6 separate regions of the Homo sapiens genome follow, and regions 1, 2, 3, 4 and 5 are each linked to region 6. The links are contacts of gene promoters, found by promoter capture Hi-C in blood cells and fetal thymus (Javierre and others, 2016). All regions are on one chromosome and are shown on one strand. Each heading gives the region's core, a stretch centred on a gene start or on the middle of the fragment in contact. The rest is flanking DNA. Distances are from core to core; before and after follow the strand shown. Region 1 has its middle 42 kb from the start of VSIG4. Region 2 has its middle 4.0 kb from the start of ZC4H2. Region 3 has its middle 60 kb from the start of VSIG4. Region 4 has its middle 220 kb from the start of EDA2R. Region 5 overlaps HEPH (hephaestin). Region 6 holds the start of LAS1L (LAS1 like ribosome biogenesis factor).

Evidence for each region. The method cuts DNA at HindIII sites, captures the fragments that hold promoters and counts their contacts. A CHiCAGO score of 5 or more calls a contact.
Region 1: a fragment that was not itself captured here is called in contact with the fragment with the promoter of LAS1L in region 6 in 2 of 17 cell types (activated CD4 T cells and non-activated CD4 T cells); the score reaches 5.6 in activated CD4 T cells.
Region 2: a contact is called between a fragment that was not itself captured here and the fragment with the promoter of LAS1L in region 6, in 1 of 17 cell types (fetal thymus). The highest score is 5.1, in fetal thymus.
Region 3: a contact is called between a fragment that was not itself captured here and the fragment with the promoter of LAS1L in region 6, in 4 of 17 cell types (monocytes, activated CD4 T cells, non-activated CD4 T cells and 1 more). The highest score is 5.9, in monocytes.
Region 4: a contact is called between a fragment that was not itself captured here and the fragment with the promoter of LAS1L in region 6, in 1 of 17 cell types (non-activated CD4 T cells). The highest score is 5.4, in non-activated CD4 T cells.
Region 5: a contact is called between a fragment that was not itself captured here and the fragment with the promoter of LAS1L in region 6, in 1 of 17 cell types (monocytes). The highest score is 5.7, in monocytes.

The regions. Positions count from the first base shown.
Region 1 is chrX:66,080,902-66,083,724 of GRCh38, reverse strand. No RefSeq gene overlaps it. Among named protein-coding and RNA genes, the nearest start is that of VSIG4, 42 kb to the right of the region's middle. The HindIII fragment of the contact is 862 bases long and covers 1,040-1,901 here.
Region 2 is chrX:64,978,984-64,981,923 of GRCh38, reverse strand. It overlaps a transcript of ZC4H2 not described here. Among named protein-coding and RNA genes, the nearest start is that of ZC4H2, 4.0 kb to the right of the region's middle. The HindIII fragment of the contact is 167 bases long and covers 1,488-1,654 here.
Region 3 is chrX:66,098,422-66,101,557 of GRCh38, reverse strand. No RefSeq gene overlaps it. Among named protein-coding and RNA genes, the nearest start is that of VSIG4, 60 kb to the right of the region's middle. The HindIII fragment of the contact is 600 bases long and covers 1,213-1,812 here.
Region 4 is chrX:66,414,564-66,417,499 of GRCh38, reverse strand. No RefSeq gene overlaps it. Among named protein-coding and RNA genes, the nearest start is that of EDA2R, 220 kb to the left of the region's middle. The HindIII fragment of the contact is 2,394 bases long and covers 160-2,553 here.
Region 5 is chrX:66,199,533-66,202,686 of GRCh38, reverse strand. It overlaps HEPH (hephaestin), which reads right to left. Exons shown (of 21, transcript NM_001367233.3): 12 at 1,935-2,147. Among named protein-coding and RNA genes, the nearest start is that of HEPH, 37 kb to the right of the region's middle. The HindIII fragment of the contact is 1,928 bases long and covers 871-2,798 here.
Region 6 is chrX:65,533,505-65,536,310 of GRCh38, reverse strand. It overlaps LAS1L (LAS1 like ribosome biogenesis factor), which reads left to right and starts at 1,524. Exons shown (of 14, transcript NM_031206.7): 1 at 1,524-1,831; 2 at 2,576-2,701. The coding sequence starts at 1,596. RefSeq lists an enhancer at 1,250-1,429. The HindIII fragment of the contact is 19,270 bases long and covers 1-2,806 here.

The DNA of each region.
Region 1 (2,823 bases), core at 221-2,720, 550 kb before region 6:
ACCCAGTGTATACTTGAAACACCAAGCTTTTAGAATGTCTTAATGTAGATACTCAGAAGCTAAAACATAGGGACAATTCCAACTTGTCACTAATTCTTCTAAACCTCCCATTTAAATGCACTGGGTCTTTTTCTTTTTCCACTTTGATGTTGAGCTCCTAAAATATTTATGTTTAGTGAAAACCTTTCTGACAAAGGATAATTAAATTTGGTTTTGTTTTTTACAACAAAGTTTTTTGGCCATTGCAACACTCAGGTAGCTAATGACAATAAAATGTGTGTCTCATTGCAGGTCATTACCAGTCACATCTGGGGCTTCAGCTTTCAAATGTGCTCATCAATATTTCCATATTCCAGCGGAGGAGATGCTGTAACATTCTGAGATAATATGGTGGAGGATGGGTAAAAAAAAAATTTACCATGCTTGTTGCTATTATTTCTCATACCATTGTTAAATATTCTCAATAGGAATCACATCAAATATGATCTGAGAAAGACCAGATGTATGAACAGGTACATAATCAAGTATCATTTCCTCTAACACTCCTATTTAGATGGAAATATTTAAAAATGATCATGCACTTGTTGAAGACAAAAATGAAAGTCTCCTTGACAGTGTCTTACCTATTTGAAAGATGAATCCAAAAACTTAGTTTCATCTATGAACCCAGAAGATGGAGACGATGGGTAAGCAGTCTTGTCGGCAATGTGTTGGTAATTTAATAGGGGTTACAGCTATGTTAAAATGTGAGGGCATGTCTTATTTTTAACTAAACAAATAATGCTTTCCTTCAATTACAAAAATAAATTTATTGGTACTCTGCCAGTATATTATGCATTTGAGTTTTTTTCTTAGTGGTGGCAATGCTACTGCTCTCTATATTCTTGTTCAGTTCCCTTTATGACCACCAAAACACACTTGCAAAATAACTAGTCTGACCTGTTATTTTGTGGCTAAAGAATAGAACGATGACAACCAGCCCATTAAAAATATATTCAGTAGTATGATGATTGAAGAAATAAGATATTGAAACAAAGCTTACTTAATATAAAATATATGTATAAAATTAACACTTTTGCAATAAACAATGACTAGTTAAAATTCTAGTGAAAATTCCTTTCCCCCAAACAACAAAAGTTTAAATTAGCAAATACTATAAATGTAATAAGAAATATAGAGTAACTATTTGGGGAAAAACGTTGGTCTGCAAATTTGAGATTTTCTATAATTGTTAAAGGAAATAGGAGAATAAACATGTATATCATTTTCAAGTGTATTTTATGGATGGCAGATATTTGGGTATCTTCTGAGGAGAGTTACCTGTTTAGACGTCTATGTCTCAGTGATGCCTATTTGGGTAGAAGGAAGGGCCAAGTGAAGAATCATTAAGTCTGGTCAGGGAGGTGGAAGTTTTAGAAGAGGAAATCTGAGAAGGAAATGGCTGGAGAAGACTTCCAGTGGAAGATCATTTAGGAGGCAGAATATTCTGAAATATATTTTGAGGGTATAAAGAGGAAACCTGAAGAGCTAGAATCTTTTGGGAGAGTTAATGTGTTTGAGGGAATGGTAATTACAGATGTAAGCAGGGATATCCTAAAGCCTGGGTACTATAAAGAGAACTAAGCCATTAAATCAATTGTATCTGGGAGCTGAGGTGTTTAAGAAGCAAGACAATGGGAAGGACATATTATTGGAGAAGGAGGTATGAATGGTAAACTTCTGTTCATGAATTAAATGTTTACAGGTATTGGCTGCTAAAGCCAACAGCATAAACGCCATCTACCTGGGTGTTGGCCCAGAAGAGTGGCATACATGTGTTGTCTTCATCACATCCATCAACTGAACAGAGGTGCAGAATGCTAGCAATAGGCACATCTGAAAAACAGTGCACCAGAAAAGCTTTCCTAAAGACACCAGAAAGAAGTTTGAGGATCTCAGACTTCATGACATCTAGAATGTTGTAATAAGTGTTATTTGTTTTTTAATTTTATTTTTATTGATACATCATAGAGGTATATATTTTTGGAGTACCTGTGGTAATTTAATAAACTCATATAACTTGTAAAGATCAAATCAGTGTAATTGGGATATCCATTATTTTAAATAGTTTTCTTTATGCTAAGAACATTTGAATTATTCTCTTCTATGTATTTTTTATTGTCATTCTTAGACAGAATTTTTTTTTTTTTTTTGAGACAGGGTCTCATTCTGTCACCCAGGCTGAAGTGCAGTGGCATGATCATAGCTCACTCTAGACTCAAACTCCTGGGCTCAAGTGATCCTCCCACCTCTGCTTCTCAAGTAGCTGGGAGTACAGGCGTGACCAACCCACCTCAGCCTCTTCCAGGTATTTTGAGATACACAAGGCCAGGTACAGTGGCTCACAATTGTAAGTACTCCCAGAGCTTTGGGAGGCTGAGGTGAGTGAATAACCTGAGCCCAGGAATTTGAGACCAGCCCAGGAAACATAGGTGAACCCCCAACTCTACAAAACATTTTTTCTTTAATTAGCCAGACACGGAGTACCTGTGGTCCCAGATACTCAGGATGCTGACGTAGGAGGATCGCTTAAACCTGGGAGGTTGAGGATACAGTGAGCCATGATTGTACCATTGCACTCCAGCCTGAGCTACAGAGCAAGACCCTGTATCTGGAAAATATAAAAGAAATACACAATAGATTATTGTAAACTACAGTAATAAATGATAATTAAACAACTACACATTAAATCTTAGAATCTAAATTAACAATTCAACTGTTAGAGAAGCTGTCCAGTTACATGTGTTTGACAGTTTTCTAAAATATAAATTCAAAAAGAATGTG
Region 2 (2,940 bases), core at 322-2,821, 550 kb after region 6:
AATTTCAGCTGAAACATTGCCTGAGAATACCTAGCACTGTCTATGTAAGCAGATACAAATTCTGGCTAATCACCCACAAGTCCCATCTCCTAGGGGAATCTTCAAAGTTAAGGCTTCAAACACACCCCTCAACACCCCAGCTGAAGGGCTGAAGTGATGGAGAACATGAAAATTTTCTGAGAGAGTGTGAAGAATGAGATTACCTATCTCAGCTCCTAACTCCCTAACCTAGGGAGGTCAATTACCATTTCTGTTCTTCAGTTTTTCCATATATCACATGTGAGTGCCTTCTAGCTCTAACATCGTACGGTTCTCTTCCAGTCTTTCCTGTTTCAGTGAATGGCACTGACCTTATTACTGAAGCCAAAAATCCAGGAGTCATTTTAGATGCCTTATCTCGCCCTCCGTACCTCTCCATCCTATCCATGAGCTAATCATATCAGTTCTGTGCCCAATAATATGTTCCCAATCAGCCCATTTTTCTTCATATCTACTATTACTACTGTAATTCAAGCCACCATAATTTCTTTCCTGGACAACTGTAATAGTTTTCCCACTGGTTTTCCTACTTCCACTTTTGCCCCAATAAAATCTGTTCTCACAGCAGTCAGTGATGTTTAAAAACTAGATCATGTTGCTCCCCTGCTTAAAACCCTCAATGTTTGCCTATTGTAATTAGAATAAAACCCAGACTCATCACCATGGTTTACAAGACCCTGTTTTTAGAATAACAGTTCAATGACATAAACTGTCTCCTCAGTCTACTTCTGCTCCCCTTAATCAGCCAGAGCCCTACCTACTTTTTTTTTTCATAGGCTAAGCATTTTCTGACTCAGGACCATTGCACCGGCTATTCGTTCTGCCTGGAGCACTCTTCCTCCAGATCATTGTATGCCCAACTCCTTATGTCTCCACTACAATGTCATCTCTGAACAGGAGCCTTCCCTGACCATCCTAACTAAAACATTCCCCCTCCTGCCATCATTCTGTCCTATTATCCTCAATTAGTGTCTTATGGGCTTATCTCCCCCAAATATTATTATGTTTATTTTTTTTTCTTTTCTGTCATTATTGTCTGGCTCCTCCTACTAGAATGTAAACTTCCTAAGAACTGGGATCTTGGGTAACTAATAGAACATAGTAGGTGAGAGCATGGCTTCTGGAGGCAGACTCTCTAAATTTGAATCTCAGTTCTGCCACTTACTAGCTGTGTTACTCTGGGCAAGTTACTTAACTTCTCTGTGCCTCAACTTCCTCTTCTGTAAAATAAGGATGATAATAATATATACTTCCTGTGAAGTTTTTGCAAGGATTAAACTAACTTAATACATGCAAAGCACTATATATCCCTGGAACCTAGGAGAGTGCCTGGCATGTAGTAAGTGTTCAGTAAATATTTGTTGGCTGTTTGCATGAATTAATCCTCGATACCTCCTGCTGTTTCCCTCCCTTCCTCTCTCATCCTGCCTAGTTTTGTTCAGGAAGCTTTTCCCTGACTCCTTGCCCACTTCTCAGGACTAAATTGGTTCTCCCCTTATGTGTGTGTGTCTTGCTCACAGAACCTAGACTTATTTCAAGCCCTGATTGCTAGGTATAACTATATATGTATGCATGATCTTTGTAATAGCTGGTCTCTCTCACTAAATGGTAAGCTTGGTAAGGGCAGGGCCCATGTCTGTCGTATCTGCTATGAAATCTTCACTGAAACCTCGATGGTTCCTGACATATCATAGGTGCACAATAAACATTTTTGGGCTGAAAACTTTTGGCTCACTTTTCTCTTAGAAATGCTGATTAAGAAATATAATGAGAAATTTAATAAGTAATTTGCACTACTTTTTGAAAGGCAATTTGGAACCAAGACTGTTGTTGCATCTCTGCCTCCTTTTAGTTTAGTTCACTGTTGAAGTACAAAGAAATATCTGTGAATTCAATATTCTGGCCTCCATTTTTAAAGTCTTGATCTATTCCCTGAAAGTATAATCGAGACTGACTGGCTTCCCTTTTGCTAATTTCTTGCATTTTAATGGTATTAACCCCAACATACCCTGCCTTATTGCCTTAGCAATAAGAATAATGTTGGCCCTGATAAAACTAAGATTTTTTTTTATTTCTAACCCCTCAAATCAATCAGTTCTTCTAATAAAATCATGCATTAGAACTCACTGCTAGCCCATATCTTAAATATTGTTTCAGCCATTGCAAACTTCTGATCAATTGAGAGCTACTGAACACTTACTATGGAAAAGCCACCACCTTGGCTTGCAGATACTGTTTTAAGTGCTGCTTCAGAAGAAGGGGCAGAAGGCTATAGTTTCCTTCTCTTCCCCACTGTTTCTCTACAACATTTTCCTTCCTCTCACTGCTAGCCTGGATTCTTAAAATTCAGCAAGGAACAGGTGAGACATCTGTTCTCAAGGAGGTCAAGGAGCCAAAAGCAAACCAGCAGAAGCTAAGAGGCACATTACTCTTTCTGTATTTGGACATTTTAATTGTTACAAATAGCACAAACCTTCTTCCAAGCTCCAGGTTTTCCCATGGCCTCTTCTCTTAGATTAACTGCTATCTCCCTTAAATGTCCATAGTTGGAAGCATGGGACATGCTTGGCCCTCTGCAGACACCCTATATTGGAGTGCACCTTCTGGCTGAAAAGTAACAGAGGCATTCAGGCCCCATGGTAGCAGCAGCAGCTTGATACAGGCCGCATGGGGCCATAGGAAGAGCACAGGCCCTTGAGTCAGGAGTCTTGGTTCTGTTTCAGCCAAGTAGGGTGATGTCAGACAAGTCCTTTGCCTCTCTTGGTCTCAGTTTCCTCATCTGTAAACTAGGATTTCGGTGAGGCTTGAAAGACAAGATAGTTCCCAAATTATTACCAAATCAGACTCTAAACCCATTAACATATTTAATTGAAACAGATACATACCCACATCCAGACTTTT
Region 3 (3,136 bases), core at 263-2,762, 570 kb before region 6:
CCACGGTGGCTCACGCTTGTAATCCCAGCACTTTGGGAGGCCAAGGCGGGTGGATCACTTGAGACCAGGAGTTCTGGAACAGCCTGGACAACATGGCGAAATCTCATCTCTACTAAAAATACAAAAATTAGCTGGGCTTGGTGGCACATGCCTGTAATCTCAGCTACTTGGGAGGCTGAGGCTCAAGAATCACTTAAAATCAGGAAGCAGAGTTTGCAGTGAGCCAAAATAGTGCTACTGCACTCCAGCCTGGGCGACAGAGTGAGATTCTGTCTCAAAAAAAAAAAAAGAAAAAAGAAAAAGAAAAAGAAAAATGTAGGCATATGAGACTAGGAATAGTTATGAAGCCATAACTTTATTTTGATATTTTTCTTAATAAGCAAAATATCTGCTGAACCTGCCTGCCCACCCCCAGAGCTGCTTATAAGTCAATAGTAACACAGTTTTTCACTTATGAGATGTCTGTGTATGTTGATATTTTGCATGAACCTTATATTCAGATGATGTCTATGTATTGGAAGTTAGAGACAAAAAGCAAAACCGGAAGTATTTGGAATATAAATTAGATCAGTGGTTCTCAAAGCATGATTTGTGAACCCATGGGGGTCTCAAGACATTTCATGGGATATGTGAGTTCAGAATTATTTTTATAATAATACCAAGACATCAGTAGCCTTTTATCACTCTTCATTCTCTAATAAGTACAGTAGAATTTTCCAAAGGATACATAATGTCTTATAATGTAATTCTAATGTTAACATATAATGTTCATATTATTATAATTTTTAAAGAAATTTGTATTCAAAATTTTTATTAGTTTTAAATTTTAATATTGTAAATATTGATAGATACAACCCATATAAACACAGTTTTTGGAGTTCCTAAAAAGTTTTAAGAGTGTTAAGGGGCCATAAGACCAAAGAGTGAAGAACCACTGGAATAGACGAAACTTGGTTCACAGTGCACTTTTTTCATAATACAAAAGCATTATGGTCTTTGTTTTAGTTGTTGTGACCTTGTAATAACCTTCTTCATTATGTGAGGTAGAAGAAGAAGGAGAAACGTAACTAAGATGAATCATTATCCATTCCCATTGAAAAAGGAGCCATGTACAGACATCTCTGAGTCTACGTAGCTCTTCATCTTGTTGGTCTCACTGAGAATAATATTTAGACATATGAACTGACCAATATTTAATTTGAGTTTAAAGCTTCCAAATATGAAACAATGATTTTCATATCCGATTAGTAAGTGCAAGTGACCATCAGCATACTAAAGGAGATACCAGATTTTTCTTCTATTTTCTTGTAGAAGAAAACAAAAACTTCAAATGCTTTTTCTAGTATTGCATTGGCTGGTTAGCTTTTGTGCCCATTTGTTTACTGATATTTGGGAAATGGTATATGCCTTCTACAAAATAAAGGAGTGGTCTCTGGCCTAAACAGATTACAGGCAATTATTTCATTATCACAGAATCAAAACAGACATCTAGTTCATTCCAAATGGGATTGCTCTCTCTTTTTAATGCTGATAAAATTTATTATCTGTGCTATTCATTTGTCATTTATTACATACTGCTTTTCAGATATAGTCATCTTTTTATGTCTAAATATCTAACCTTCATTCCCGATATGTTAACTCCATGAGGGATCTTTGACAGATGAGCTTATTCTACAGACACATTTACAGCAGATGAAAACAAGTTAGAATTTTCCATTTCCATTTCCCATTCAAATTTGAGGTACCTATAGTCTATAGTTATTTGCTAGCTAGAACCTAGGCTTACTTACAGTAGTTGAAAAATGTAAAGCTTTCAAGTTAGAGTATTATATGATAATGCGATGTGTTGTTTTATTCTGTTAAAGTTTTATTGTTGTTACTTATCTGTACTTACTAAATGAAAATTTTTGTTCTGCCTATACCATGGGATTCTGAAAAAATAAGACGTTTTAAAAGATTTATTAAATGTAACAATATTGCATCTTATAGGCATACTCAAGCAGTGCAGGTCCAAATCATTAAAGCCTGCTTAGTCACCACCTGTGGAAATAATTACATCATTGTTACAGATATTATTCTGCATTTAACTGTAGAACTCTAGCATGATGCTTCGTTTTATGAAACACGTAGTTCAATATGTTCCTAACCTACTTAGCCTATAAAATGAAACTGTAGCCTACTTTGGATACTTAGGATTGTTTCTGAGAATTAACCACACTGTAGATTATCCCATGAGATAAAGCCTCCTCTCCAACACCACTCATAATCACTTCCAAAAGGGAAGAGCTGGGAAAAGGTCAGAGGTCAAGTCTAAACAGAATGAGGTTTGTTTCTAAATAATGCACTTCCCTGCCTGTAAAAGTCACATCTAATTTCTTTACTATCTTCTGTAATTATATATATTCTCTCACTGTAGGATATTTTCAATTATTTCGGGATAGAAACTATGACATATTAATCCTTGCAGTCCCCTCACAGTTCTTAATGTGTAAAATTTACTCAAAAATATATGCTTAATTAAGTAAACATTTATTGTTGGTCTACTATATGTAAGGTATTGTTCTGGGAATTGGGGGGAAGGATGGGAGAGACTATATTTGTAATCCTCTTTTAAATTAGTAGGAGAGATGAGAAAGTATGTAATAACTATTATGAGGCATTCTTTTCTTAGTGCTATAAAAGAGGTACATTTGTAAAATTTAGTCTATTGTTTTAGGTTAATAATGCCTCTTCTCTTTCATTAGTACCCATAATGGAGAGCCGACGGTATGTGAAATTTCTAACCAATACAAGTGTACTGTTTCCATTTTAGGTGCCAACAATTAAAATTGAGGATATCAGAATCTACCCTAATGTGTTCCAGAGAATGATGGCTGAAGTACAAGAGATGAGAGAGAAGCAGAGCAACATGGATGCCAAATTTGCAGAACTGAAGAAGTGCTTATTATTATCAAGATTTCTGGTGCTTATTTCCAAAGTTTTTAAGTTTGATTGCCTCTGAGTTTAGAAACTGAACTCTTGTTTTCCATGGCACATTAGTGAGTTTTACTTCTTTTAAGTAAAACCACAGCACGGAATCAAATGCTTTAGTGCTTGGACTGCTGTTCATGTTCCAATGGCTTGGATCATATAACTC
Region 4 (2,936 bases), core at 107-2,606, 880 kb before region 6:
ATGAACCAAAACAGACTTGGTTCTTTTCTTCACTGAGTTTACATTTTACTTCAGGAAAAACAAATTATTTTTAAAAGTCACACACATGAAAGTAAAATTACAGGTAGAATAAGTGCTGGGAAGTACAGGTGCTATGAATGTGTATTAAAAAGTGAAGCTTTCTTTAGTTAGGAATATCCGGTAAGGCTTCTCTGAGCAAGTCACATAAATTAAAATTTGAAGAAAGAACAGAAGACCACCAGGTAAAGAAAATGTGTTTATAAGGATGGGAAAAAATGTTCCAGATACAGCAGTATGTTCAGAGGCCCTGCAGCAAGATATATTCAAGGTATTGAAATAAGGGCAATAAAACTGGAGCCCAGAAAATGTGGAAAAACAAAGCAAAGGTACAGCTGCAGTGGTAGGCCAGGCCAGTCCATGCAGGGCCTTCAGGTCATAGTAAGGATTTTGAACATCATACTAAAAGTAAAAGAAATAAGCTCTTAAAGTGTTTCTAAGAAAGGATAAGGGTGGGTGATATTATCAGATTCATGTTTTGGGAAGATAACTTATGCTGCAGTGCAAAGAACAAATTCAAAAGCATTAATTCAGATATAATTAATGAGAGGTCATTTTAGAAGTCTAAGTGAGAGAATAGACTTGTGGCAGTAAGATTGGAGATAATATTATTATAAATATTCTAGAAATAATAATAAATTAAAGAGATATTTCAGAGACAGGTGTCACTCACAGGATGATGCAATAGATTGGGTATGTGTGTGAGGGAGAAGGAAATGTCAAGAATGACTTCCAGGTCTCTAGGTAGATGGTAAAGCCATCTACACTGAGAAGAAGACTATAAAAGAATCAGATTTGGGAAGCAAGACCATGTTGAACAATGCTTAGATGGAGGAGGATTTGTTATATCCTAATTGAAAATTCAATTCGACCGTTTGATATAGAGATCTGCTTGTCAGAAAGGAATGAAGTAAAATGGAAGATCTGGGGCTCATTAAGGACTCAAGGGCACCTGGCCTCTATCCGATAGAAGAAACACATGACTTCTGTAGTGCTCCAAGGTGTCAGATAAAGGAGCACTTTCCAATAGCCTGAGCTCTCCTGAGATGGAATTGGATGCCTTGGTAAATAATGCATGAGGTTTTATCACAGATACTAGACGGTTTTCCACCAGAGATGCTATACAAAACCTTCAATTATCAAATGATGGGTCTGTCACGAGATGCCTTCTAAGCTGTCACTATGTCCAAAAGTCAGGTCAATGCAACAAAATTCCACCATAAAATATTCAAAGAAGTAAACCATCAGTGTCTGTCTTTTGGGAAGAAAACTTGTCATAAATGCAAGGATCTGAGGAGGCCCAGTTCTCTTAAATCTACACCTTATCCTGGGTGGTAAAATACCTGAAGTGCAAATCTGACTTACTACTCTCTTCATCTGGTAGACATTTGATGTATGAAAATGCTCTAAAACTTTGAAGTCTTTGCCTGAGTTGTTCTTTGAGTTGTTCTTCTGTGAATCCCAGAATCAACCAATAAAGTTTGGAATCCTAAATCCTAAATAATAGCTTTTTTTTTTGAAACACTTGAAAGTTCTGGAAAGGGAACAGATACTGAGCACTCACTATGCTCTGGGTACTTTAAATCTCAGTGCAGCCAGGGAAGAAACTAGTATTATCCTCATTTCACAGGTGAATAAACTAAAGTGTCTAGAAGTCAAACAACTTGTCCAAGACCATTTAACTAGAAAGTAGCAGAGCTGGGATTTTTACCCCAGATATTCCTGACCCCAACTCCAGTGGACTATCTCTGAGGTCCAGGCCATTCACTCCTGCTTCATAAGCAAAATATCCAGTGTCATTTACCCTCAGGACATTCTTATTCACTATTTTTTATTTTGAAAGGATTTTAGACTCATAAAAGTTACAAATTGTTACAGAGAGTTCCCATTTATCCTTTGTTTAATTTTCCCTGATGATAGCAACTTGCATAGTCATAGTATATTATCAAAGCCAGGAAACTGATATTGGCTTAATACTATTAACTAAACTACACATCTTAATGAAATTTCATCAGTTTTTACATGCAATTTCTGTGTGTATTTGTGTGTAGTCTTATGAAATTTTTATCATGTTTATAGATTTAGGTAACCACCACAACAATCAGAATATCAAACTCTTTCATTATGACAAAGAAATTCCCTGTGCTACTTCTTTATAATCACAGCCTCTTAGAACTCTAACCAATGGTAACTACTGATTTGTTCATAACTACAATTTTGTTATTCTGAGGATGTCTTATAAATGGAATCATACAGTAAGCAATTTTTGGAGATTGACTTTTTCACTTAGTATAATTGTCTTTGAGCCCCATTCAAGTTGTGTGTATTTATAGTTCATTCCTTTTTATTGCTGAGTAATATTGGTATAATACAGTTTAACCATTCACCTGTTTATGGAGAATAGATTGGGGAAGAGACAGATAGAAGAGATACTGCCTATTTTAAACTTCTAATTGTGTATGGAGGACTAGAAGAGGTGATAGGACTTACTAAGCTTCAGCCAACTATAGCAGAGCTGAGACAACAACAGTAACTGCTAGTCCTTATATAGTACCTATCTGTTGCCAGCCACTATTTTAAGTACTTTATATGTATCAATCTAGGAGGTAATAAAAACAATTATCTCCATATTACAGATGAGGAAACTGAAGCATATAGAAGTTAAGTAACTTGTCTGGCATTATGCTAAGTGAAATAAGCCAGGCACATAATACAAATACTGCATAATCTCACTTATATGTGGAATCTAAAAAAGTCGAACTTACAGAAACAGAGTTAAATGGTTGTTGCTGGGCTTGGCTAGGGGCTGGAGTATGGGGATATATTGGTCAAGAGGAACAAAGTTTCAGGTAGACATGATGAAAAATGTCTGTGTAGCT
Region 5 (3,154 bases), core at 585-3,084, 670 kb before region 6:
CCTATCAAGTACCAAAGAAATAAAGTAGACTTCAATAGTTAGGTAAAAAGAAAGAGAATGTCTTGATTGCAGAGGGATGCTTACCTAAGACAGCTTTAGAAGGTCCTTCACTCATTTTTTACAATGGAATGTGCAGGTAACAGTCTTAAATGTCTGTGTTGTGAAGTTGCCTGGACCAGATCTTAAGCTCCAAATTTCTAACTCAAGGATACTCAAACTCAATGTCGATCAAAAGAAGCTAAATTTCTTAGAACATTACTCTCATTGTTTCCTTACTTTGCTGCTCAGTGCTTATCCCATCACTACAAACTCTTCTTCCTGGCTTTCAAAGCCTTCTATGAGTTGGCACCAAACTACCAATCCAGTTCCACCTCCCACACATTGTCTCAAACTCAACTAGCACTCCAACTACATGGAACTCTGACTGTTTCTCTCACACATCTCATTCATTCCTACCTTGAAATCTTCATTCATTTTGTTATCCTCTTTCTGGAACTTACCTGCCCACCCCACCCCCAAGTATCTATGAGAGTCCACTCATTATCCAAGACTCAATTCATGTTTCTTTTCCAGAAAGCCCTCCCTGACTATTTTGGCCCAAATAGAGTTCTACATTCTTCACTTCTCCACCTCTAATGCACTTTATATCTAAACCACATGTTAAAGGGCTAAGTGCCCCTCTCTTTTAAAATGATCCCTTCTACTAGTTTATAAACACGTTGAAAGAAAGGGTCTACTCATTTCTTTCCACATCTACTTCTTCTATTTCCCTTACCACCGTTATCTATTGCATCAGTAAATCCTATCAGCAATTCCTTCAAAATTATTTTTTCGTTTAAACTGCCACTTCCCGAGTCCAAGCCACAAGCTTCTCTCACAGAGAAAACTGCAATAGCCTCCAAATTGTCCTTTCTATTTCTGAGGAGACCAGCTTTATGTCAAGTGTTTGTCAAACTCAGGACTAGGTTAATATTATTAAAGCGTTGAAGACACTTGTTCAAGGATGTTTTTCCCCCCAGATATGAATGAAATTTACAGGAGTAAAACAAAAGTTTAATAGGAACTGCGTGGAGCTGACAGGTTGTTCTTACAAACACTATTGCCATCTAATGGCTGGAAAAAAAAATACACCATAGGGACTAAAGAAAAGATAACTGCTCTATTATGAAATTCTAGAAATACATAGAATCTGAAGAAACATTATAGTCAAATATCTTCATAAAAGGAAGAAAAAGGATATAGAGGGAAGGAGAGATGGAGGGAGGACAAAAGGACAGAAGGAAGGAAGGCAGAAAGGAAAGAATCAAGGCAGGAAATCTAGCTAGAGAGAAGGGAAGTAATTAGACCAAAGTTACGCAGCAAGTTAATGAAAGAGCCTGAACTAGGGCTCCTGTGTTCTGATTTCCAGGCTGAAATTGTTACATCACCACACACACACACAAACACACACACGGGGTGGCAGGGGGCAGAGGGTGGGGCGCATCATGGGTAGAAAGAGAAAGAGAGAGGGAGAGATCAGAAATGAGTCTGTAGAAAGCCTCACAGAATATCAATTTGATAGCACTTATAAGTGCATTTTATTGACCTTCCTCCCAATAAAAGTACTGTACCTATAAAATCTCTGTGTTGTCAAGTCCACTCCCTGCCATATAAGAACTTCACTAAAGCTGAGCAACATCCCAACTTCCCTTCTGTTGTTCCAGAAAAGAGCTTCCTCCACCTTCTACTAACTATTCTGCCTGCAGCTGAGTAGGGAATCCAAGTAACCAGAACATGGAGAGCACATTGAAGAAGAAAAAGACAAGTGTTTTTAAAAACTTCCTAGAACCCTTAACATGCCTATTATTTTCTCTTCACCATCCCTCCCTCTTCCCGACCCCATTCCTGGCCCTATACCCAACAAAGCCTCTAGGGCCAGCTGCTAAGGCACTTACCAAGGTTGTCAGGCTGCATGATGGCCATGACAAAGGTATGAGGAAAGAGCATAGCTGCACCCTTCCTCATGCCCTGAAGCTGCACAGTGTTGCCCTGGAACATGACTCCATGCACATCAGTCTCTGTGCCCAGGCCGAGCAGGTGCCAGGCCACTGTGTCACCCTTGCACATGTCCAGCCTGGGCAGGTTAGAGAACAGAAACCCATTAATGGCTGGAAAACAAAAACACAAGACAAGGTGGGGAGATGAGACCAGACTACTCCAGCACTGGCCAGGAGCATGGCATCAGCTATGTACTATGGTTTCACACAACTTGAAACTGCTGAGTCATCCTCAACACCTCTGCCTTCCTCTCTATGCCACTTTAACTCTACTCGTGAATATCTCTGTCTTTGGGATGAGTGCTCAACTGTCCTTTCTGGCCTCACCTCCACCATGATCCACATCCTGACAACATTGAACTATTCTCCACTACCAAACACACACACACACACACACACACACACACACCAATCTCTCCTATTCCCTATTTCTTGAAACTCTCCTTCCTTGGTTTCTGTGGCAACATACTTTCTGGTCCTTTTACAACCACTCTGATTGTTCCTTTTCCATATAGATCTCATTTTCCACGCCCCCATACGTGTTGGGGATCTGAAAATTCCATCTTCAGCTCTCAACCTGTTTCCTCCTCTTCATCTTCACTGCTACTGCCCTGGTTCTGGCCCTCATCCTCCCTGGCCTGAACTAAAATAGCCTCCTCTCTGGTACCCCTACCTGCAGTCTGTCCTCCCATCCTCTTCCATACACACACACACACACACCATTGTCCTGTGAGCTCTATTTTTCTCTGCATTACCAAAGCTTTAAATATTGTAGGTGCTTTGATAATACCTGTTGACTTTTCACATGATTTCCTCTTTCTGGAATAAACTTCCCTTATGGTCTCTTTCTATGGCATCCTACCACTTACCTGTCGTATCTTCGTTCAGCTATACTTTACTCTCTCTTCGATCCATGAAAATTTTATCCCACAAAATTCTGCAGTATCAGTTGCCATGGATTGTAACTGATATACTTTCTGGTGATTTACTTACAAATCTATTTCCTGCACTGGATTGACATAACAGGAAGCATATCATTTTTTTTCTATATCTATGTGACTGCCTGAGCACCTAGCACATTACCTAGTACCAATTAGGCGCTCAGTAAATTCTAACTG
Region 6 (2,806 bases), core at 275-2,774:
ACTAACAATACAAAAATTAGCCAAGCATAGTGGCAGGCGCCTGTAATCCCAGCTACTTGGAAGGCTGAGGCAAGAGAATCACTTGAACCCTGGAGGTAGAGGTTGCAGTGAGCCGAGAATTGTGCCACTGCACTCCAGCCTGGGCGACTGGGCCAGACGCCATGTCAAAAAAAAAAAGAAAAAGAAAAAAAGAAAAATAAAATAACTATAGGCAGACTATATCTTAGGAAAAGTTGGCTGGAGAAAGAAGCACATATAGAGGATGAATTGGGATTTGTTGCTGTGAAGCGTAAAAGTGCCACTCACAGCAATGCTGTTAAGATCGTTAGCAACAGTTCTCTCTCTCTCTCTCTCAAGTGTTACATTGGAAAATAACTTCTGCAAGAAGGATTGGGACATAGTCCTAAACATATTTCAGTCAACTCGTAAAATCGGAGGAACTTCATAATACCGCTTTTCTCCCAGAACTCCAAAATACCAAGGAATTTTGCAGAAAAACTAAGTATACCTTGGTGGATGTTGAAACCAACATAGCAGTGGAATGTTGGCAGAGTAAAATTCTACAATTTTCTGCTATGACAGAGAACCTAGAGACCAGTCTACAACTCTCACTGTACAGATGGGAAAACTGAGACTAGTCTAAGTCCACATAGTTAGTGGCAAAATTTAGAGTAAAACTCAGGTCTCTAGGCTGGTATTTATTTATTTATTTATGTATGTATTTATTTAATTTACTTTTGAGACAGAGTCTCGATCTGTCACCCAGGGTGGAGTGCACTGGTGCGATCTTGGCTTGTTGCAGCCTCCGCCTCCCGGATTCAAGCGATTCTTGTGCCTCAGCCTCCTGAGTAACTGGGATTACAGGCATGTGCAACCATGCTTAGCTAATTTTTGTATTTTTACTAGAGACCGGGTTTCACCATTTTGGCCAGGCTGGTCTGGAACTCCTGACCTCAAGTGATCCGCCCGCCTGGGCCTCCCAATGTGCTGGGATTACAGGCGTGAGCCACCACGCCTGGCCAGGCTGGTACTAATTTAAAAGGCAGGGCCCCTGGTTACCTGCCACAAAAGCAGATTTTTTCAACCCAACTGTAACTGTTTCGATATGAGATATTTCCTCTGTAGCCCTGCTTCAGTGTCCAGTGTTTTACTAGGTTAGGTCCTGATTCACGGCAATAAAAATATACTTAAAATCGCATTTTCAGTTCACTGGATGACTACAATCAAGCTGCCACCCGCCGAGGGGAGCAAAATAAAATTCCTCTTGCAGTGAAGACATACCGCTTCCGGTCTGGTACAGAAGCCGGTTAGCAACCAGGAAATTGGCGGAACCTAGAGGCTGAACTCTTGCCCCTGGAGGGTTTGCTTTGTGAAAAGAACACTTCCGGCCGGTGAGTTTTTAACCCCGCATGTCATTAGGTCGGCGCCCAATTCTGACGTTCCGATTGGCCATGCTGACGCTGGAAGGCGGGCTTGCGTATGGGGTCACGCTCTCCTATTGGCTGCTGGTGCGGTGGCGGTTCGGAGTGAGGGTAGCACGCTGAGCTGAAGGCTGTGCGGAGCGGCGCGGCACAGAGCCTGTTGTTGAGCTCAGTATGTCGTGGGAATCCGGGGCCGGGCCAGGTCTAGGTTCCCAGGGGATGGATCTCGTGTGGAGTGCGTGGTACGGAAAGTGCGTTAAAGGGAAAGGGTCGTTGCCACTCTCGGCCCACGGCATCGTGGTCGCCTGGCTCAGCAGGGCCGAGTGGGACCAGGTGACGGTTTATCTGTTCTGTGACGACCATAAGTTGCAGCGGTACGCGCTTAACCGCATCACGGTGTGGAGGAGCAGGTAAGGTGGCGGGTTCGGCCCTTTTGCCTGCGTGCTGGTGGCGCTGCACCTCTTCCTTTGTCGAGTTTCTATAAGGCCCTGTTCTCCAGTCTTCCCCTAAGTCGCCTAAAGTTGTCCCTCTCCCAAATGCCTGGGGGAACGCGGCAGCCATCTCTTGCGCTAATCCCGTTAGCGGAATGGAAAGTAAGGGGTTGTGCCTCAACAATTCTCTTGTTATATCTGTGAGGTTTACCCATTACCTCCAAAAAGTGACTTTCTCCCAACTTGGAGAGGATGCCGGAGGGACTAGTGAGGCCTGAGCCAGGGCTTAAGGAGTAGATTAGTACCCTAGGGTAGATTTCCGATTCCAATGGGGAGGAAGTCTTGCCTGCAAGACAGTGTTTGAGTGGGGCGCCTCAGTCCAGTTGGTAAGATTGAGTTGGGAGCCGACTTACAAGGGATAAGGGGCTCCTCTAGCTCAATGAGTTGATTTGGGGGTGAAAGAAAGGGGTGTGTCCACACAACTGTTGATGGACAGTCTACCAGTTAGGTGTCCTGTATACGGCCTAGTCAGCTCCTCATGCCCTGTATACTGTTGGATCCCACAGACATTACCGTGTCTCCTCCCACCTTCTTGTTTTGTGTCTGTTCATGCTCTCTTGAACCAGAATATGATGGGTGTAGCCTGCAACAACCTAGGTTCTGAGGTGGAGGGTGGACCAGTGTAAGGGCTCTTTATGATGGTGCTGGACTGTGACCCTTTAGGTCAGGCAACGAACTCCCTCTGGCAGTGGCTTCTACTGCTGACCTGATACGCTGTAAGCTCTTGGATGTAACTGGTGGCTTGGGCACTGATGAACTTAGACTGCTCTATGGCATGGCATTGGTCAGGTAAGACCTGCATGGGGTAGGGGTGGAGGTTGGCTTTGGGGACTGGAGGCAGGGGAGGCATGTGATAAGCAAAACTTGGCTTCAGGTGTTACCTGAAGCAAAACC